Regions from separate parts of the Homo sapiens genome. Here all the other regions are linked to region 1. Evidence: promoter capture Hi-C in 16 types of primary human blood cells and fetal thymus (Javierre and others, 2016). All regions are on one chromosome and are shown on one strand. Each heading gives the region's core, a stretch centred on a gene start or on the middle of the fragment in contact. The rest is flanking DNA. Distances are from core to core; before and after follow the strand shown.

Region 1 (3,197 bases), core at 526-3,025:
ATTATTATTTTAAGAGAGGGTCTCACTTTGTCACCCAGGCTGGAGTGCAGTGGTGTGATTAAGGGTCACTGCAACCTCCACCTCCCAGGCTCAAATAAACCTCCCACCTCAGCCTCCCCAGTAGCTGGAACCACAGGCACGGGCCACCACGCCTGGCTAATTTTTTGTATTTTTTGTAGAGATGGGGTTTCATCATGTTGCCCAGGCTGTTCTTGAATTCCTCGGCTCAAGCAATCCTCCCACCTTGGCCTCCCAAAATGCTGGCATCACAGGCATGATGGCATCACTGGCATCACATACCATGCCTGGCCTGATTTATGCAAATTAGATATGCATTTCAAAATAATCTATTTTTATTTGTTGCCTTATTGGTGGTACAATCTCAAGTGGAAAAATCTAAGGGTTTTGGTGTTATTTGCTTACTCAACCAATATTTATTAGACTCTTACTAAGCACCAACATGATCACATGCCTGAGCTATGGCTAGCATAGCGTGTGAGACAAACTTAATCTCTGTTTTGGTGGAGCATATAATCTAGTAGATGAAGCCAATGTTGAGCAACATCACAATACTAACAAATTGAGGATGCTACGAGAGTGTCTAACAAATTGAGGATGCTACGAGAGTGTCTAACAAATTGAGGATGCTATGAGAGTGTGTCATGGAGAGCTGCCTGGAGATTGAGAGAAAGCTTCCTTGAGGGAAGTTACATTTCAGCTGAAACACACTGCCATCTGCTCGAGGTTTTGTAACTGCATTCACATCCCGATTCTGACACTTCACATCCCGATTCTGACACTTCACCCAGTTACTGTCTCAGAGCTTGGGTCCGCATGTGTAAAACAAGGACAGTATGCACTTGGCAGGGTTGTGAGAAGGGAAGAGAACACAAGTAAAGCACCTGTATCAGGCATACAGTAGGCACTAAGCGTGCGATGCTTGCTATGATTATACATCAGTGTAAGCATCAAGGAAAAGCTGAAGAAAAGTCTGACCAACAGCGAAAGATAAATGCGCAGAGGAGAAATTTGGCAAAGGCTCCAAATTCAGGGGCAGTCCGTACTCTACACTTTGTATGGGGGCTTCAGGTCCTGAGTTCCAGACATTGGAGCAACTAACCCTTTAAGATTGCTAAATATTGTCTTAATGAGAAGTTGATAAAGAATTTTGGGTGGTTGATCTCTTTCCAGCTGCAGTTTAGCGTATGCTGAGGCCAGATTTTTTCAAGCAAAAGTAAAATACCTGAGAAACTGCCTGGCCAGAGGACAATCAGATTTTGGCTGGCTCAAGTGACAAGCAAGTGTTTATAAGCTAGATGGGAGAGGAAGGGATGAATACTCCATTGGAGGTTTTACTCGAGGGTCAGAGGGATACCCGGCGCCATCAGAATGGGATCTGGGAGTCGGAAACGCTGGGTTCCCACGAGAGCGCGCAGAACACGTGCGTCAGGAAGCCTGGTCCGGGATGCCCAGCGCTGCTCCCCGGGCGCTCCTCCCCGGGCGCTCCTCCCCAGGCCTCCCGGGCGCTTGGATCCCGGCCATCTCCGCACCCTTCAAGTGGGTGTGGGTGATTTCGTAAGTGAACGTGACCGCCACCGAGGGGAAAGCGAGCAAGGAAGTAGGAGAGAGCCGGGCAGGCGGGGCGGGGTTGGATTGGGAGCAGTGGGAGGGATGCAGAAGAGGAGTGGGAGGGATGGAGGGCGCAGTGGGAGGGGTGAGGAGGCGTAACGGGGCGGAGGAAAGGAGAAAAGGGCGCTGGGGCTCGGCGGGAGGAAGTGCTAGAGCTCTCGACTCTCCGCTGCGCGGCAGCTGGCGGGGGGAGCAGCCAGGTGAGCCCAAGATGCTGCTGCGCTCGAAGCCTGCGCTGCCGCCGCCGCTGATGCTGCTGCTCCTGGGGCCGCTGGGTCCCCTCTCCCCTGGCGCCCTGCCCCGACCTGCGCAAGCACAGGACGTCGTGGACCTGGACTTCTTCACCCAGGAGCCGCTGCACCTGGTGAGCCCCTCGTTCCTGTCCGTCACCATTGACGCCAACCTGGCCACGGACCCGCGGTTCCTCATCCTCCTGGGGTAAGCGCCAGCCTCCTGGTCCTGTCCCCTTTCCTGTCCTCCTGACACCTATGTCTGCCCCGCCAGCCGCTCTCCTTCTTTTGCGCGGAAACAACTTCACACCGGAACCTCCCCGCCTGTCTCTCCCCACCCCACTTCCCGCCTCTCATTCTCCCTCTCCCTCCCTTACTCTCAGACCCCAAACTGCTTTTTGGGGGGTATCATTTAAAAAATAGATTTAGGGGTTACAAGTGCAGTTCTGTTCCATGGGTATATTGCATTGTGGTGGCATCTGGGCTCTTAGTGTAACTGTCACCCGAATGTTGTACATTGTATCTAATAGGTAATTTCTCATCCCTCATCCCTCTCCCACCCTCCCACCTTTTGGAGTCTCCAGTGTCTACTATTCCACTAAGTCCATGTGTACACATTGTTTAGCGCCCACTCTAAATGAGCCTTTTTGTTTCATTCATTCTGTAAGTGTTGAATAGGCACCACCTAAGGTCAGGTATAAGTGGAAATTTGAAAAAGAAACTGCCCACTTGCCCCAGTACTTCCCTAGCCAAGAGGAGGGAAACCAGGCAGGTGCACCTGAAGGCCTGTGAGTGCTTGATTTGCTGTGCAGTGTAGGACAAGTAAGATTGTGCATAGCCTTCTGTATTTAAGACTGTGTTAGGAAGATTTCTCTTTCTTTTCTTTTCTTTTTCTTTTTTCTTTTCTTTTTTTTTTTTTAGGCAGATGAAAAGGGCGTCACAGAACAGGAATAAAAATCTAAATATTCAATAAATGAGACCTAGGAGACTACTGCAGTGACTTACAAAGTCCTAATAAAAAGATGTCTCTCCAAAATGGGGCTGCAAAATGTGGTGCTGCCTTATCAGCTCTAAGTTTTTTCCTTACCTGAGAAAGAAGGAACCTGATGCAGGTTCAGGGCTCCTGCCCCATGAATGCAGGCTGACTCCAAGATGGGGAGCTACAGGGACAATCCCAGGTCTTCTAGGCCTCTTATTTAGGCCCTGGGAGCCTCCAGAGATGGCCACATCTTGACCAGCCCAGATAGAGGGAAAGATCACCATTATCTCACCTCTGTGTCAAATACCTAGATGCTGTCCTCCCTGAGCCCACACTATAGTTGCCAGCGCTAATTTAAT
Region 2 (3,064 bases), core at 185-2,684, 290 kb after region 1:
AATCTCAGCACTTTGGGAGGCTGAGGTGGGCGGATCACCTGAGGTCAGGAGTTCAAGACCAGCCTGCCCAACATGGTGAAACTCTGTCTCTACTAAAAACACAAAAATTAGCCGGGCGTGGTGGCGTGTGCCTGTAGTCCCAGCTACTCAGGAGGCTGAGCCAGAAGAATCGCTTGAACCCGGGAGGTGGAGATTGCAGTAAGCCAAGATCATGCCACTGCACTCCAGCCTGGGCGACAGAGTGAGATTCCATCTCAAAAAAAAAAAACAAAAAACAAAAAAAAAAAACTTATGGAGGAAAATAAGTTTTATTACTAAGGCATCATACATCTCTCCTATCCATTTATCATCAGTGAATTGAGCATCTTTAATGTATATGAACCAAATTCAGTATGTTGATTCTTAATTTCTTGGCACTTGAAAGGAATCTGGAGATAAATAAAGCATGAAAATGTACCACAGTCATCATTTAAGATCACAATGGGTGGTAAAGGTAGGTATTAACAGATCTTCCACTTACAGTAATGGTGAACTAAACGACTGGACCAACCCTCCCTCAAAAAAAAAAAAAAAAAAGCCAACATAAAAAGCTGAAAGAAATGAAAAAAAAAATGTAATTGCATAAAATCCTAACAAGAAAGGTAAAATGAGGAAAATAAGATAAACCATATATTCTGTCTAAAGGCATTTGCTGACTGTGGAAAGATGGCTGAGAGGTAGAGTGGCACTTCTTGTAGGGAGGAGAAGGTGGGCTCACTGCGAATCTGCTGGAAGCACTGAGAAGCAAGCTGCCATTTCTGGCAGACTAATAGAGCTGCACAAATGGGAATGGAAGTTCCATATTCTGCCAAAGGAGGAGACACACACTTTGGAAGTAAGGTTACAAATTCTATCCCAAGACCACCCAGGTAAACCAAAAAAATTCTGAAGCCTTGATTATACACTGTTAGCACCCTCAGGTAATGAAATTTCTCTCTAGAATCAACAAAAGCAACAGACAATCGCAACAACCAAAACGTCAAATACTGACTGGAGTTATCAGAAAGAGCATGATACAATTATGCTTACAATGTTCATGGGGATAAAGACAAGCTTTAAAGTTTCAGCAACAGACCAGGAGCCATAAAAAGTATCATTGGAAAAAAGAACCACCAGAAATTACAGAGCTAAAAAATACAACCCAACTTAGAAACTCAATGGAGTACTTAACGGCAGATTAAACACAGTTGAAGAAGTGATAAACTAGAAGGTAGGCCTGAAGAACTAATCCAGAATAAAGCATTGAAATGGAAAAGACAGAGTAAGAGGCCTAGAGGTTATAGTCAGTGGGCCTGACAGGGATTTCACCGGAGCCTAGAGGAGAAACAGAATGGGGCAGAGGCAACATTTAAAGAGATACAGGCCAAGCACAGTAGCCCACACCTGTAATCCCAACACTTTTGTAGGCCGAGGCAGGAGAATCCCTTGAGCCCAGGAGTTCGAGACCTGCCTGGGCAACATAGGGAGACCCCATCTGTACCAAAAAAAATGTTTTTAAATTAGCCAGGCATGGTGTCACGTGCCTATAGTCCCAGCTACTCAGGAGGCTAAGGCGAGAAGATTGCTTGAGCCAAGCATGTTAAGGCTGTAGTAAGCCATGATCTCTCTACTGCACTCAAGCCAGGGCAACAGAGCAAGACCCTGTCTCTAAAATAAAATAAAGAGATATAACTGAAGACATCTCAAGACTGATGAAATGATTTAATCCATTGATTCAGGAAACCCAGTGAAGCTTAACCAGGATAATGTGACAGAGTGCTTACAAAAAACGGCCACAATATAATTTCACTCCCAGTACCCATGTCCCTTTACAATACAACTTTGTAGCTCTTCATATCAAAAGGTAGAGTTTATTTCCCTACCCCTTGAATCTGGGGTTAACCAATAAAACGTGGTAGAAATGAAGTGCTAGTTCTGAGCCCAGACCTCGAGAGGCCTTGTATGTGTTTGTCTTTTGGAACCCTGCTGCTGTCACATGAACAGGCTCAGACTAACATACTGGCTAATGAGATATGTAGCCCAGTCAACTATATTGCCCCAGCCAACAAGCCAGCCAATCCACAGAAGCAGAGCTGCCTACCTGGCCTGGCTGGCAGCTAACTATAGACCCACATGGGAGCCCATGTGGAACCAAGACCACGTGGAGCAGAAAAGAACCATACAGCTGGGCCCAATCCAAACTACCAACCTACAGAATTATAAGCTAAATAAGTGACTGTTGTTTTAAGCCCTAAGTTTTGGGGTTTATTTCACAGCAAAGGGTAACTGACATAGAAAAGTAAAAACAAATCCACAGACATATCATAATGAAGCTACACAAAATTAAAGACAAAATCTTAAAAACAGGTAAGTGCTGGCCAGGCGCGGTGGCTCACGCCTGTAATCCCAGCACTTTGGGAGGCCAAGGCAGGTGGATCACAAGGTCAAAAGATCGAGACCATCCTGGCCAACATGGTGAAACCCTGTCTCTACTAAAAATACAAAAAAAAGTAGTCGGGTGTGGTGGCATGCACCTGTAGTCCCAGCTACTTGGGAGGCTGAGGCAGAAGAATCGGTTGAACCCGGGAGGCAGAGGTTGCAGTGAGCCGAGATCGCGCCACTGCACTCCAGCCTAGGCAACAAGAGTGAAACTCCATCTCAAAACAAAACAAAACAAACAAACAAACAAAAAAAACAGGTAAGTGCTAATATAATTTTTAGGAGAGAGAAATCATTGGATGGGGTTGATCTTTAAACATTCTAAGTATTTCAATTTAATAACAGTAGGAAGACAGGCATTCTAGGCAAAAATAATCACTATCTGAAGTGTAGTCAATTTTTTTTTGTGAAAATAAGGCCAAAAAGGTAGATGTGTTTGTTTAGAGTTAAGGGCTCATAGGCAAGCAGATATGGACTGTCTTCTAGCTTCACCACTAGCTGTGTGACCTCAGAGCAAGGTATTTCAACTCTGTACTTTGGTTTTCTCTTATTATAATGTAAATAATATCACTACTATCACCTACTCCTACTTGTTAAGGATTTTTAA
Region 3 (3,221 bases), core at 516-3,015, 340 kb after region 1:
TGTTGCTCAGGCTGGTCTTGAACTCCTGACCTCAGGTGATCCACCCACCTTGGCCTCCCAAAGTGCTGGGATTACAGGTGTGAGCCACCGTGCCTGGTCCTGAAACTTTCTTTTAGCATAGGCCACCATGCCCTGCATGTGACCCTGATTGAAACAAACAGGGAGGCCAGGAGTAGAGGCTGACGCCTGTAATCCCAGCACTTTGGGAGACCGAGGCGGGTGGGTGGATCACGAGGTCAGGACATGTAGACCAGCCTGGCTAACATGGTAAAACCCTGCCTTTACTAAAAATACAAAAAATTAGCCGGGTGTGGTGGCACGCACCTGTAGTCCCAGCTACTTGGGAGGCAGAGGCAGGAGAATTGCTTGAACCCTGGAGGCAGAGGTTGCAGTGAACTGAGATTGTGCCACTACACTCCAGCCTGGGTGACAGAGCGAGACTCCATCCCAAAAAAAAAAAAAAAAAAAAAAAAGAGATAAGGATGTGTAATCATAAGACAGTCATCTATATTCTGTTCTGTAGTTTATGAGCTATCCTGGCTCTGGAATAGTCTCTGTCTATTACATAGACTCTGGCCAAACCAATCAGACCTTTTTTAAAAAAAAATTAAATTTAAATTAAAAATAAATTAAAATTAAATTAAATTAATTTTTTTCCCCCCAGAGACAGGATCTTACCCAGTCACCCAGGCCAGAGTGCAGTGGCACTATCATACCTCACTGCAGCTTCAAACTTCTGAGATTACACTTTCCTCCTGTCTCAGCCTCCCGAGTAGCTGGGACTTTAGACATGCCCCACCACGCCTGGCTAATTTTTAAAAATTATTTTTTTGTAGAGAAGAAGGTCTTACCATGTTGTGCCCAGGCTGGTCTCCAACTCCTGGACTTAAGCAGTCCTCTTGCCTTGGCCTCCCAGAGTGTTGGGATTACAGGTGTGAGCCACTGAACCTGGCCCAGACCTTTTCTTGTTAGAAGTTTGGACTTTGCTCCTAGTTCAAAGGGAGAGTCCCACTCCTATAATTCTCAGTCTCTTTTAACAGGACAGGTAAAAACGTATGTTCTTCTGACAACAGAACTTCAAAATATATGAAGCAAAAATGTGCAGAAGGGGAGACGTAAACAAATCCACCACCATATTTGGGGATTTTAACACCCTAAAAATTTATTAAGGATATCAAAGATCTGAATAACTCTATCAACCAGCTTTTGCTAACTGACATAAATAGAATACTACCCTCAGCAACTATTAAAAAAAATGTTCTTGGCTGGGCAAGGTGGCTCATGCCTGTAATCCCAGCACTTCGGGAGGCCAAGGAGGGCGGATTGCCTAAGGTCAGGAGTTCGAGACCAGTCTGGCCAACATGGTGAAACCCTGTCTCTACTAAAAATACAAAAAAATTAACTGGGCGTGGTGCCATGCACCTGTAATCCCAGCTACTTGGGAGGCTGAGGCAGGGGAATTGCTTGAACCGGGGAGGTGGAGGTTGCAGTGAGCCCAGATTGCGCCACTGCACTCCAGCATGGGTGACAGGGCAAGACTCTGTCTCAAAAAAAAAAAAATTCTTTTAAAATGCACAAGGAGGATTCACCAAGAGAGACCGTATACTGAGTCAAAAAATAAGTCTCTAATTTCAAATGATGAGAATGTTAAAGAGTATTATGTTCTCTGACAATACTATAATTAAATTAGTAATCAATAATAATAGCATAGCTAGAAAATCTCCAAGTGCTTGGGAATTAAATGGCACACTTCTTTATTATCCATGTGTCAGGTAAAATCACAAGCAATATTAGAAAACATTTGAAGTGAATGATAATAAAAACGTATTGAAATTAATGGAATACATCTAAAGAGCTTTGGGGAAAAGTTTTCATATTAAAGGCTTACTGTAAAAAAGAAGAAAGTTTTAAAATCAATCAATCATTTAAACCAGGAGTTGACAGACTTTTTGTGTAAAGCTCCAGGTAGCAAATATTGGAGGCTTTGTAAGTCATGTAAGTCTGTCATATTCCCCCTTGCCCCAACCATTTAAAAATGTAAATATCAGGCCAGGCGTAGTGGCTCATGCCTGTAATCCCAGCACTTTGGGATGCTGAGGCAGGTGGATCAGTTGAGATCAGAAGTTCAAGACCAGCCTGACCAACATGGTGCAACCCCATCTCTGCTAAAAATACAAAAGTAGCCGGCATGGTGGCATGCGCCTCTAATCCCAGCTACTTGGGAGGCTGAGGCAGGAGAGTTGCTTGAACCTGGGAAGCAGAGGTTGAAGTGAGCCAAGATCACACCACTGCACTCCAGCCTGGGTGACAGAGTGAGGCACTGTCTCAAAAACAAACAAAGAAACAAACAAAAAACCATTTTTAGGTAGGAAGCAATATATAAAGACCATGGGCATCATTTAGTATTTTGGTGAACCCTGATCTGTGTTTCCATCTTAAGATTCTAGCCGGGCGCGGTGGCTCACCGCTGTGATCCCAGCACTTTGGGAGGCCGAGGCAGGCGGATCACCTGAGGTCTGGAGTTTGAGACCAGCTTGACCAACATGGAGAAACCCTGTCTCTACTAAAAATACAAAAAATTAGCCAGGGGTGGTGGCGCATGCCTATAATCCCAGCTACTTGGGAGGCTGAGGCAGGAGAACCGCTTGAACCCAGGTGGCGGAGGTTGCAGTGAGCCAAGATTGCACCATTGCACTTCAGCCTGGGCAACAAGAGTGAAACTCCATCTCAAAAAAAAAAAAAAAGATTCTAGAAAAAGAAGAACAAATCAAACAGAAGCAAAGAGGTAAAGATAATAGTTAATTTAAATAAAAAATGGGCCAGGCACAGTGGTGCATGCTGAGAGGCCAAGCTGGGCAGATCACTTGAGCTCAGGAGTTTGAGACCAGCCTAGGCAACGTGGTAAAACCTCATTTCTTTTTTTTTTTTTTTTTCTGAGACAGAGTCTCGCTTTGTCACCCAGGCTGGAGTGCAGTGGCGTGATCTCAGCTCACTGCAAGCTCCGCCTCCTGGGTTCACGCCATTCTCCTGCCTCAGCCTCCCGAGTAGCTGGGACTACAGGCACCTGCTACCATGCCCGGCTAATTTTTTGTATTTTTAGTAGAGACGGGGTTTCACCGTGTTAACCAGGATGGTCTCAATCTCCTGACCTCGTGATCCACCCACCTTGGCCTCCCAAAGTGCTGGGATTACAGGCGTGAGCCACCACGCCTGGCCGGGGA
Region 4 (3,139 bases), core at 499-2,998, 450 kb after region 1:
CTAGACTGATTCAACTGAAGAACTATAATCTGTAAACAGAATAGCCCAGTATTTGTCTCAAAATGGTTTATCAAGTTTGTCTTTTTTTTTTTTTTTTTTTTTTTTTTTTTTTGAGATAGAGTCTTGCTCTCTCGCCCAGGTTGGCATGCAGTGGTGCAATCTCAACTCACTGCAAGCTCTGTCTTCCGGGTCATGCCATTCTCCTGCCTCAGCCTCCTGAGTAGCTGGGACTACAGGTGCCCGCCACCACGCCCGGCTAATTTTTTGTATTTTTAGTAGAGATGGGGTCTCACCATGTTAGCCAGGATGGTCTCAATCTCCTGACCTCGTGATCCGCCCGCCTTGGCCTCCCAAAGTGCTGGGATTACAGGCATGAGCCACCCGGCCTCAAGTTTGTCTTCTTTCTAATGAATATATCCAACAAATGACACCTAAACCGATTTGATTTATTTGCAGTTGGGCATTACTAATGTTGTAGTGGTTTGTTCAGTATGTTTCTATTTAAAATATCTGTGTTCTGTGTTAGACATTCAAGTCATTCAAGGCTGTTTCTGTATAAAATATTCCCTTTAGCAGGATGAAGTTAAAGGAAGTAGATCGTACAGCCATGCAGGCATGGAGCCCTGCCCAGAATCACCCCATTTACCTAGCAACAGGTAAGTTCAAAGGAGAGAAGATAGTATGAGTTACCTAATTTCTTCTCTTCTGCACCTAGCTTATTCAGTTTAAGCTTTATCTTCTCTAGAAAGCCTCTCTCTCCCTGGCAAGTTACTGACATTCTATCAGCCAAGTTTAGTGTTCTTCCTCTGTGTTCCCATAGCATTTTGATCATGATGTGTTACATCTAAAATATTTTCCTTCACAGGAATTGTATTTTATCTTTATTCCTCCAGTATTAAGCACAATAGATGGCATGTAAAAAAAACAGTTAATATCAGTTTGAATGAATGAAGAGCAATTTTGATGTTAGCATTTTTATATAAAAAGAAATAGTTATATCATATATGTCTATAAGCAGATATAGTAAATCACGGGACTTTTTTTTTTTTGAGATGGAGTCTTGCTCTTTCGCCCAGCCTGGAATGCAGTGGCGTGATCTCTGCTCACTGCAAGCTCCACCTCCCTGGTTCCTTCCATTCTCCTGCCTCAGCCTCCCAAGTAGCTGGGACTACAGGCGTCCACCACCATGCCTGGCTAATTTTTTGTATTTTTAGTAGAGATGGGATTTCACCATGTTAGCCAGGATGGTCTTGATCTCCTGACCTCATGATCCACCCATCTCGGCCTCCCAAAGTGCTGGGATTACAGGCATGAGCCACCGTGCCCAGCCCCCATCACGGGACCATTTTTACAGAGATTTTTAAATATATACAGGCTTAAAAAATTATTTACACTACCCACTCTTATAAACATCCTCTCCTAGCCCTGTGCCAGAATCTCATTGCTATAGTAATTTAAGCATCTGCTCAATGGCATATGTGCAGCATTCATGAGCAAGAGAATGGAAAACATGCTTTTAACTTCTGTTTTGTATGGTTTCTCTGATCTTTTATTTTTGTGTGTATAGTTACCATAAATATATTTTCTATAGGAACATCTGCTCAGCAATTGGATGCAACATTTAGTACGAATGCTTCCCTTGAGATATTTGAATTAGACCTCTCTGATCCATCCTTGGATATGAAATCTTGTGCCACATTCTCCTCTTCTCACAGGTATGAGGTTCAGCTTTAAATTCATGTGATTATTTAATTATATATTGTTCTTGATTCCTAATTTGTCTATAATTATGCCATTATTAGAAACTACAAGGAATACCATCAAGAACATGAAATATTTTGTGAAAAAGCATGTGAGTGAATTTTTATGGAAGTAAAAGTAGTGTTTATGTGTTCTATTGACTTTTTTTTTTCTTTTTTTTTTTTGAGACAGAATCTTACTTCATAGCTCAGGCTGGAGTGCAGTGGCACGATCTCGGCTCACTGCAACCTCCACCTTCCAGGCTCAAGCAATTCTTGTGCCTCAGCCTCCCGAGTAGCTGGGATTACAGGTGCACACCACCTTGCCCAGCTAATTTTGTGTCTTTAGTAGCGACAGGGTTTTGCCATGTTGGCCAGGCTGGTTTTGAACTCTTGACCTCAAGCAATCCACCCACCTTAGCCTCCCAAAGTGCTGAGATTATAGGCATGAGGAATCACGCTTGGCCAGTATGTTCTGTTGGCTTTTTTATTGCTGTTACATGTAAGGTAGGAAGGAGAGGCTGTAGTTTCTAGCATTTTTTTCTGTTTTTTTGGTGTGTGTGTGGTTTTTTTTGTTTTTGTTTTTTTTTTGAGATGGAGTTTCACTCTTGTTGCCCAGGCTGGAGTGCAATGGCGCAATCTCGGCTCACCACAACCTCTGCCTCCTAGGTTCTAGCAATTCTCCTGCCTCAGCCTCCCGAGTAGCTGGGATTACAGGCATGTGCCACCATGCCTGGCTAATTTTGTATAGAGTTCTTTTTTCTATCTCCTTTATTGTGCCTGTTTACAAAAAGGTAGATGTGACTAGAAAAGGAGTAGTCATCGTAAGTATTAATAGTGATTATCTCTGAATGGTAGCTTATTTTTATTTTCTTCTGTTACGATATTTAGAAATATATCTCACAGTTTTGTTGACACGATTTCTAATACACTAGGTAACTAGGTATTTGGATCATACTTTCAAGTACTTATGCCCTATTGTAATGCAGAGAAAGGAGGTCTTCATTTCAGTAATAAAATAAGCTTTATTGCCTCAATATATTAGCAGGGTTTAAAGAGATTGCTCTTTAGCTGACAGAATATAGCTCAAATCATGCAGTTTCATGGGACCGCTCATATTCTTCAGAGCTGTCACAGTGGGATGGGAACCCCAGATACCTTTTGTCTAGTAGTTTTTCTGCTTACTACCATCTGTATCATCGTATACCTTTCTGCCTTCATATTTCATCTCCATTCTGGACCATATATTTTATTCTCTAATAGTAGGGGTACTTGTTATAATCTTGATGTCATTTTTCTACCATTAGAATACATTCTTTTTCTTAGAAAATTTCACATGACTCCTTTAACACCTTTACTATTTAACAGACCACTTGTTAGTGACCCCCCCTTTTTTTTTT
Region 5 (3,087 bases), core at 315-2,814, 270 kb after region 1:
TTAATTTTATTTAAAGTTAAGAGAATATTTTGTAAATGATACCTGCAATACTCTCTGAATGTCATTGGTACTTTGTTGGATTTAAACAGACACCAAACAAAGACATTCTCAGAAAATGGGTGTCATAACCTGAAACTCCTGAAAGACTTCTATTCTAGGTCACTTTATCACAAAACACAATTTAAAACACCAAAAAACACTAAGACAATTCCACTAATAAACACTAGGCCTATTTTAACTTCTAAAGAATGTATTTACTTGTGGCTTTTTAGGTGTAATTCTGTTGTTGTTTCCAACATTTATTTTGTTGGAAGATAATAAATGTTGTTTCCAACATTTATTTTATTTTCTCATTATTTTAATAGTTTCATCTCTTAACTTTTTTTTAAATGTATTGGAATCAAGAAGATACCTTAGCTGCAGGGATCTCTAAAAGAGCTCCAAGTTCTTCGAAGGTAATATTATTATATAATTTGCTTGCAGACAACAAATTGTGTTCAATAACAGCTCTGTCCAAGATGCTGGAACCTTAAACATAAATAAGACAGTTACAAGTTTGAAACTAGTTTTATACTCTAAAAAGATGCATCATTTTTTCTGAAAATGTCTAGGCACGTAATAACTCATCCTCTTTAACTCCTCTGATCAAAATTTTAAAAGTAGCCAATATATGATGTAGTTTCATTAATGTACAATTAAATAAAAATAACATTTAGCAAATGAGTGATTGGCAAGTAATTATTAAGCATATAGATCTAACCCCTTTGGGTTTAGAATCTTGCTTCTTCAGGCTATCAAATTAACTTTTTTTTTTGAGACAGAGTTTCATTCTGTTGCCCAGACTGGAATGCAGTGGCACAATCTCTGCTCACTGCAACCTCCGCCTCCCAGGTTCAAGTGATTCTCATGCCTAAGTATCCTGAGCAGCTGGGACTACAGGTGTGCACCACTACACCGAGCTAATTTTTTGTATTTTTAGTAGGGACAGGGTTTCGTCATGTTGGCCAGGCAGTTCTCACCTACCCTCAAGTGATGCGCCCACCTGGGCCTCCCAATGTGCTGCGATTACAGGCATGAGCCGCGGCACCAGCCCATTAACTTTTCTTTCTACAAGCATAAACTTTTACTAGCAAGCAGCAGCACAACAATCATGCAACCTGTTCTGCAAGCTTGATAAAGTGATCTCTATTCTTTTGGGAACTCCAGGAGCATCAAACCAAGGCAAATGTGAGAAATATCCAGATCCAGATCCAGGATCCGGCTAACCCTCCTGAAAGATCAGGCATAGAATCCTCTTTTAAGTGAGGTCATACAGTATCTCATAATGTTCTGGACCCAGGGTCCTACTTTGAATGTATTAGACCACTGGGCTCACCCAATGCTTACATATTTCTGCTGAACATTTAACTACTATAATGAGTGCAGGGGACAAAATATACTTGGAGACTTCAAGGGAAGTATTCTGAGAACCTCTTTTTCTTACAATGCCTCACTTCTCCTTTTCCAGAATTCCACCCACGATCTGCTAGTTTTTCACTTAACTCCTATCTCCCAGTCTACCTTGCTGCTTCCTCCTTCTTTTCCTTCTCTGAAATATTAGAGGGTTTAATTTTGCACCTTCATCTCTTTTTATCCTACATTGTCTCAATACCATCAAAATGCTGATAATGATCACATATCTCTAATCTAAATCTCCCTTTTGAATTCAGACTTACACAGCCAACTACCTAAATTAAATATCCAATCCAGTAATTTTATAAATATCTCAAATTTAATATGTTCAAAAAAGCAGGCAGGTGCAGTGGCTTACCCCTATCATCCCAGCACTTTGGGAAGCCAAGATGGGAGGAACTGCTTGAGCCCAGGAGTTCAAGACCAGCCTGGGCAAAATGGAGAGATCCTGTCTCTACAAAAAAATTTAAAAATTAGCAGGGTGTGGTGGCACATGCCTAAGCTTCTGGGGAGGTGGAGGTAGAAGGATCCCCAAGAGGTGGAGGCTGCAGTGAGCTATGGCATCATGCCAGCGCCAGCCTGGGCAAAAGAGTGAGACCTTGTCTCAAAAAGTAAAAAAAAAAAAAAAAAAAAAAAAAAAAAAAGGGACTGCTTAACCAGGCACAGTGGCTCATGTCTGTAATCCCAGTGCTCTGGAAGGCTGAGGTGGGAAGATTCTTTGAGGCCAGGAGTTCAAGACTAGCCTGGGCAACACAGTGAGACCCCAACTCTACAAAAAATTAAAATATTAACCAGGCATGGTGGTGTGCACCTGCAGTCCCAGTTACTTTGTTCCAGGCTGCAGTGGGCCATGATTGCACCAGTGCACTCTAACCTGGACAACAGAGCACGACTGTAACTAACAAAAAAAAAAGAAAAAAGAAAAACTTCTCTCCTCAGTCTGTTCCTCTCCCAATCTATCCCATGTCAAAAAGTAGTACAGCAGGCAGAGGGGAGGCAAGAATAAGGAGTTATTGTTTAATAGGTACAGAGTTTCAGTTTGGGAAAATGTAAAAGTTCTGGAGATGGATGTTGGTGATGGCTGCACAACAATGTGAAAGTAATGCCACAGAACTGCACACCCAAAAATGGTTAAAATGGTAATTTTTATGTTTTATATATTTATCACAATTTTTTTTTAACAAGGTCTTACACTGTCACTGAAACCGCAGTGCAGTGGGGCAATCACGGCTCACTGTAGCCTTGACCCCCTGGGCTCAAGCAATCCTCCTACCTCAGCCTCCCGAGTAGCTAGAACCACAGGTATGTACCACCATGCTTAGCTGTTTTTCTTTATATTTTGTAGAGATGAGGCCTCACTATGTTGCACAGGTTGGTCTGAAACTCCCAGGCTGAAGAGATCCTCCCGCCTTAGCCTCCCAAAGTGCTGGGATTACAGGCATGAGCCACCATGCCCAGCCATAATATATATTTTTTAAGTAGTACAGCAGTATACCCAGTTAAAAGGATTGTATTGCCAGGCACTGTGGCTCACGCCTGTAATCTCATCACTTTGAGAGGCTGAGGGGGGCGAATCACCTGAGGTCAGGAGTCCGAGATCAGCCTGAGCAACATCCGTCTCTACTAAAATTACAA
Region 6 (3,098 bases), core at 279-2,778, 480 kb after region 1:
ACTGTCAAGAGAACAGCACTGGAAAAACCTGACCCATGATTCAATTACCTCCCACTGGGTTTCTCCCATGACACATGGGGATTATGGGAGCTAGAATTCAAGATGAGATTTGGGTGGGGACACAACCAAACCATATCAGATATTTTCACTCATAGTTCCTCCCATACAGGCTAGAACACAGTTTCTACCTTTAGACATCTGCCTATCATTTTCACTTTGAGTATTTGCCTGTTTTAGCTCACTAGACAAGTATCTGGTAGCTTAAGGATATTTAGGAAAAGGTGGTAACCTTCCTATCCTACCCTATCCATAAGTAAGAGGCCTTCTTCCTCCTTACTACTTTTTCACTTACCTAAATAGTGGCTGTACTTTTCTAGGAGGGATGATAACAGGTACTATATTTTTAGTGGGTTTTAGAAATCTTAGTAACTCTTGATCTTTTCCTGCTTCCTCTCATACATGGTCTTGATATTTCTGTTTGTTACTCATTTTTTTCATTTAGGATCTGATTGAGAAAGTTGTCATCCTGCGAAAAGCTGTGCAACTCACTCAAGCCATGGACACTAGTACTGTAGGAGTTCTCTTGGCTGCGAAGATGAGTCAGTATGCCAATTTGTTGGCAGCTCAGGGCAGTATTGCTGCAGCCTTGGCTTTTCTTCCTGACAACACCAACCAGGTAATTAGAATTGACCATTTTTGTAATGTTTGAGTAAGGTGAGTCCAGTAGATAACACTTAGCATTAGATGTAAACATATTAGTAGGTAGAATGTTTTGGAGCAGTTGAATTTCTGTAACCTGACTGCAGGTAAATGTTATTGACAATTCTTCAGGGATCATTTTAGGTGTATCTAAGCTGTGTTAGAGAGATAGGATAATCTTGCAGTGCGATAGATTCCTTTGTACCGACATAGTATTTTAGGAAAATGAACAGGGAAAAGACCAACTTTTTATTTCTAAAGCCAAATGCTGATTCTTCATACAAAGTTCTTTGTAGGAATATTTTATGTCAAAAAGCTATAAATGTTAATGTTTAATCAAACAAATGGAGTTGTTAACATTTTTAAAATCCCATATGTTCCATCCCAGATAGTATTGAAGTTCATTCTGTATGCCATTTTAGTTTGATACTGTCTGTGGGCAAGTATATTTTTATGTATTCAGAGCAGAGGGAACTAATTAGATTGTCCTTACTTATTGCACAATAAAACTTGGGCAAAACTATACTTGTTTCAATTCAATTCAACAAGTGGGTATAGAATGGTGAATAAGATTGCCAAGATCCTTCCTCTAGGAAGCCTCCAAACTCAATTTGGCTATGGACAAGTAAACATGAGATTCCAGAAGTGTGATATAAGTACTGTGATAAGGGTATTGGTGCTGTGGAACCCAACAAAGGGAAACCCAAACCCAGTTATGGAGCATGGGTAAAAGTACGGGTGAGGTTTGAGGAAACTTTTCCACAACAATATATCTGCATTTTGTGTCTGATGGAGCTTGATTTTGAGCCTTGCAGATACAGTCTTGTCTCTGTACTTTTTTATTAATCACTTTATTCTGTATTTTATGTATTTTTTTAGTCAATTGTTTCTAGTATTTTGTCTGTTTTAGAGAATTATTGATAAATTTCATTGAGTAAAAGTACATAATATTCTCCAGGACTATGGAGGTAGGACTCTCTAGTTGGTTTTGTATACACTTAGCTGTAAGATCCATCTCATTTGTTTCTGAATTGTTGATGGGAATGTTAGATAGAATAGCTGATACATAATCTTTTCCTTTATGGTGACTTTGGCATACTAGTTTTGTTAAGACTTTTTACCTAATAAGTAAAAAGTTATAAGTAAATAGTTATATTGAGGTATATTATAAGAACCTTTATCTTAAGACTAATTTGCTTTAAGACCCGTAGCTCATCTAGCTTAATTCATTTTCAGTACCATTTATAAGCACATCCATTTTCTATACATTATTCTTCATGCTTTTTTTTTTTTGGACTTTAAAGAACATTCTTTAGGCCAAAAAGCATAATTTTGATGTTGTTTCCTATTTATCTCAGTAGACCCTGCCTTTTTTGGTGGGGGGAATACGTCCTGAGACTTTGTGATAGCATTGTAATATATAATTCTCCCCCCCAAAAGGCAAATAAAATATGCCTAAAACATTTAAATGATCCCTTTAAACCTTTAACAAATATATAGGAATGTATAATTTTTAAAGATACTAAAATCTTGCTGAAACATTTTAACACATTGCCTTTTTGTTATTTGTTAATACTTAGAGCATATATAGGGTCACCTCATACTTTTGTAAGTCTCTATGCATGTAGATCTGTATGAGCTACAGATCTGAATTTCACATCTTAATCTTTATTTCAAAAATCTCTTTTAACATTTTCATCTCTTTCTTAAATCACCATTTTCTTCAATAACCACCTTTAGTAGTTGATTCTCTTTGGTGGCCTCTTTTAGTTATAGTTTTTTTTTTTTTTTTTTGAGACGGATTCTTGCTCTGTCGCCCAGGCTGGAGTGCAGTGGTATGTTCTCAGCTCACTGCAAGTGCCGCCTCCCTGGTTCACGCCATTCTTCTGCCTCAGCCTCCCGAGTAACTGGGACTACAGGTGCCCGCCACCACACCCAGCTAATTTTTTGTATTTTGAGTAGAGATGGGGTTTCACCGTGTTAGCCAGGATGGTCTCGATCTCCTGACCTCATGATCTGCCTGCCTCGGCCTCCCAAAGTGCTGGGATTGCAGGCGTGAACCTCTGCGCCTGGCCTTAGTTATAGTTTTTAAAGTAGTTTTGTAATTTATGAGCATTAGGTAACCACAAGAAAACATCAAAAGAGTAGTAATAAGTGATATTGGTCTTGCATAGTAACCATGAGGTAGGTATAACTCAGATCTCTGCCTCAGTTAAATTACAAGTTGCACTGTATGTCATGGACCTTTGGTGCCAGTCTTGAGTAGTAGAAAGCACAATGTCAAATCTGTGTGTCAGGGTCTATTGTATAATACCCAGCATTATGAACAAAAAGGGATATCTTGATGAATAATCTGATTAAGAAAATTAACATGCTGTCATATACCTGGGTGAACTCTC
Region 7 (3,140 bases), core at 414-2,913, 380 kb after region 1:
TGGCCAGGCGAGACTAAGTCTCAAAAAATAAAAAATAAAAAACACTCTTACTATAGAAATTTAAAATATAGGTCGGGCATGGTGGCTCACGCCTGTAATCCCAGCACTTTGGGAGGCCAAGGCAGGTGGATCTCCTGAGATCAGGAGTTCAAGACCAGCCTGGCCAACATGGCAAAAACCCATTTCTACTAAAAATACTAAAAAATTTAGCCGCGCGTGGTAGCAGGTGCTACTTGGGAGGCAAGGCAGGAGAATCACTTGAACCCAGGAGGTGGAGGTTGCAGTGAGCTGAGATTGTGCCACTGCACTTCAGCCTGGGTGACAGAGCAAGACTCCATCTCAAAAAAATTTCAAATATATTAAAAGGTTGAAATAGCAATTAACCCCCATGTACCTTTCATCCAACTTTGGAATTATCAACTTGCCTATTTTTTGTCACCCTGCTTCTCATTTTTTAGGTTAATCATGTCATTTCATCTGTAGATGTGTCTTTATGTATAGAAAAGATAGGGACACTTTTGGGAAAAAAACTTACGCACAGTCTTTTAATTTTTTTTTTTTGTAATGAGATAGGGGTCTTGCTGTGTTGCCTAGGCTGGTCTTGAACTCCTGAGTTCAAGCGATCCTCCCACCTTGGCCTCCCAAAGTGCAGAGATTACAGGCATGAGCCACCATGCCTAGCTCCTTTAATGTTATTAAATACCTAGTTAGTGTTCACATTTCCCCAGTCATCATATTTTTTTCACTACGTTTGAATTGAGATCCAGTTCTATATGTCTGTCTTTATAAGTTTGGAAATGATTGATATTTCTCTTAGTTTTATGATCTCCTTTTTCTTGTTGCCTTTTACCATGTGTTTTGCAGATATTTTCTCTCAATCTATGGCTTGTCTGTTCATTATGTTATGTTATGTTATGTTATGTTATGTTATGTTATGTTATGTTATGTTATTTTTTTGAGATGGAGTCTCGCTCTGTTGCCCAGGCTGGAGTGCAGTGGCGCAATCTCGACTCATTGCAACCTCCACCTCCCAGGTTCAAGTGATTCTCTTGCGTCAGCTTCCTGAGCTGCTGGGATTACAAGTGGATGCCACCAAGCCCAGTTAATTTTTGTATTTTTAGTAGAGACGAGGTTTCAACATGTTGGCCAGGCTGGTCCTGACCTCAAGTGATCCGCCTCCTTCGGCCTCTCTAAGTGCTAGGATTACAGGCGTGAGCCACCGTACCCGGCCTGTTCATTCTTTTAACAGTGTATTTTTAAAAAATCATGTTCTTGAATCATATTAACAGTGGTTTTTGCAGAGCAGTTTTTAACTTTAATGAAGTTTAACTTACCAGTTTTTTCTTTCATGGATTGTCCTTTTGGTAGTGTATCTAAAAAGATAGAGCTAAACTCAAGGTTACCAAATGTTATCTTCTAGGAGTTGTATAGTTTTGCACTTTATGTTTAGGTCTGTGAGCCCTATGTGAAAGGTGTAAGGTCTGTGTCTAGATTCCTTTTTTTGCATGTGGACCTTCTGTTATACCAGCACCATTTGTTGAAAAAGACTATCCATTCTTCATTAAATTGCTTCTGGTGCTTTGTTAGAGGTCAGTTGATTGTGTTGGGTGTGGTCTGTTTTTATGTTCTCCTGTTAATTAGTCATTTTCAGTCTTTGCCAATTTAACTGATTAAAAAATGTCATATACCAGCCTGGCCAACATGGTGAAACCCCGTCTCTGTTAAAAATACAAAAATTAGCCGGGCATGGTGGTACGCACCTGTACTTCCTACTACTTGGCAGGCTGAAGTGGGAGAGTCACCTGAACTGGGGAGGCAGAGGTTGCAGTGAGCCAAGATCACACCACTGAACTCCAGCCTGGAAGACCCAGTGAGACTCCGTCTTAAAAATAAATAAATAAATAAATAAATAAATAAATAATCTCATATAAATTTGTATTTTTAAAAATTATTCATATCTGTCTTCTGGACTTATTTTCTGTGAACTCCATGCCTATTGCATTGTCTTTTTTCCCTTGTGGTCTTAAAAATGTCTGTGGTACATTAAGGAACTTATTTCTTTATTATTAATGTGGTTACAAATATTTTTCTCTGTGGTTTGTTCTATATAATGTTTTTCCTTGCAGAAATTTCACATTAAATAAGTCAAAATTTAGTCTCTTCATGTGTGAATTTTTAGTTTTTGAGTCACACTTGGATAAGTCTTCCTTACTCCAATATTTATCTATTTTGAAAATCATTTAATTTTATGTTATTTTTTTACATGTAACATTCCTTTAGTACAAATTAAGTACAGGAACAGATAGTTTTTTTTAACTTTATGAAATGGTTAAATTGGTATTTGATTCTATATCATTTTGATCCTGATTTTTTTTGTTTTTGAGACGGGGTCTTGCTCTGTCACCCAGGCTGGAGTGCAGTGGTGCGATCGTGGCTCACTGCAGCCTTCACCTCCCAGGCTGAGACAATCCTCCCACCTCAGGGCTAGGACTGTAGGCACATGCCACCATGCCTGCATAATTTTTTCAGTTTTTGTAGAGATGGGGTTTTGCCATGTTGCCCATGCTGGTCTTGAACTGCCTGGCTCAAGTGATCTGCTCACCTCGGCCTCTCACATTGCTGGGATTACAGATGTGAGCCATTGCATGCCAGGGCGATACTGACTGATTTTCATAACTTAGCTTGCAAAGTGGATATCTATTTTTCTTTATTTTTATTTTTTTAAAGACAGAGTCTTGCTATGTTGCCCAGGCTGGTCTTAAACACCTGGCCTTAAATGATCCTCCCATCTCAGCCTCCCAAGTAGCTGTGATTACAGGTGTGAGTCACTGTACCCAGCTATTTTTTCAATTTTTTAAAATTGTGGCAAAATATACGTAATATAGGATGTACCATCTTTTTAAATTATACAGTTCAGTGATATTAAGTACATTCATATTGTTCTGTAAGTATCACAACCATCCATCTCCAGAACTGTTTTCTTCTTGTGAAACTGAATTTCTATATCCTTTAAACAGTCACTCCCCGTTCCAGTCTTGCATGCTGGCACAAGCCTGTAATCCCCAGCACTTTGGGAAGCTGAGGTGGGAGGGTTGCTTGAGCCCACGAGTTCAAGATCAGCCTGGGCAACATGGTGAGAC

The links. Contacts are between HindIII fragments. The CHiCAGO score rates a contact against its expected background, and 5 or more counts as called.
Region 2: a contact is called between a fragment that was not itself captured here and the fragment with the promoter of HPSE in region 1, in 11 of 17 cell types (M0 macrophages, total CD4 T cells, non-activated CD4 T cells and 8 more). The highest score is 7.8, in M0 macrophages.
Region 3: a contact is called between a fragment that was not itself captured here and the fragment with the promoter of HPSE in region 1, in 3 of 17 cell types (neutrophils, total CD4 T cells and naive B cells). The highest score is 6.8, in neutrophils.
Region 4: a contact is called between a fragment that was not itself captured here and the fragment with the promoter of HPSE in region 1, in 3 of 17 cell types (total CD8 T cells, neutrophils and activated CD4 T cells). The highest score is 7.6, in total CD8 T cells.
Region 5: a contact is called between a fragment that was not itself captured here and the fragment with the promoter of HPSE in region 1, in 4 of 17 cell types (M0 macrophages, M2 macrophages, total CD4 T cells and 1 more). The highest score is 6.9, in M0 macrophages.
Region 6: a fragment that was not itself captured here is called in contact with the fragment with the promoter of HPSE in region 1 in 2 of 17 cell types (neutrophils and total CD4 T cells); the score reaches 5.7 in neutrophils.
Region 7: a fragment that was not itself captured here is called in contact with the fragment with the promoter of HPSE in region 1 in 1 of 17 cell types (total B cells); the score reaches 5.6 in total B cells.

What each region holds. Positions count from the first base shown.
Region 1 is chr4:83,333,426-83,336,622 of GRCh38, reverse strand. It overlaps HPSE (heparanase), which reads left to right and starts at 1,775. Exons shown (of 12, transcript NM_001098540.3): 1 at 1,775-2,067. The coding sequence starts at 1,841. The HindIII fragment of the contact is 2,644 bases long and covers 695-3,197 here.
Region 2 is chr4:83,038,273-83,041,336 of GRCh38, reverse strand. All of the region lies in intron 1 of COPS4 (COP9 signalosome subunit 4), which reads right to left. Among named protein-coding and RNA genes, the nearest start is that of COPS4, 4.6 kb to the right of the region's middle. The HindIII fragment of the contact is 679 bases long and covers 1,095-1,773 here.
Region 3 is chr4:82,992,742-82,995,962 of GRCh38, reverse strand. All of the region lies in intron 1 of LIN54 (lin-54 DREAM MuvB core complex component), which reads left to right. Among named protein-coding and RNA genes, the nearest start is that of LIN54, 16 kb to the left of the region's middle. The HindIII fragment of the contact is 4,223 bases long and covers 1-3,221 here.
Region 4 is chr4:82,879,375-82,882,513 of GRCh38, reverse strand. SEC31A (SEC31 homolog A, COPII component) reads left to right here. Exons shown (of 27, transcript NM_001077207.4): 2 at 574-656; 3 at 1,592-1,715. The coding sequence starts at 578. Among named protein-coding and RNA genes, the nearest start is that of SEC31A, 10 kb to the left of the region's middle. The HindIII fragment of the contact is 2,032 bases long and covers 733-2,764 here.
Region 5 is chr4:83,063,879-83,066,965 of GRCh38, reverse strand. It overlaps COPS4 (COP9 signalosome subunit 4), which reads right to left. Exons shown (of 10, transcript NM_016129.3): 8 at 413-528. Among named protein-coding and RNA genes, the nearest start is that of COPS4, 30 kb to the right of the region's middle. The HindIII fragment of the contact is 785 bases long and covers 1,172-1,956 here.
Region 6 is chr4:82,849,009-82,852,106 of GRCh38, reverse strand. It overlaps SEC31A (SEC31 homolog A, COPII component), which reads left to right. Exons shown (of 27, transcript NM_001077207.4): 19 at 503-676. Among named protein-coding and RNA genes, the nearest start is that of SEC31A, 41 kb to the left of the region's middle. The HindIII fragment of the contact is 6,463 bases long and covers 1-3,098 here.
Region 7 is chr4:82,953,181-82,956,320 of GRCh38, reverse strand. The region is part of intron 4 of LIN54 (lin-54 DREAM MuvB core complex component); the gene reads left to right. Among named protein-coding and RNA genes, the nearest start is that of THAP9-AS1, 54 kb to the right of the region's middle. The HindIII fragment of the contact is 5,227 bases long and covers 1-3,140 here.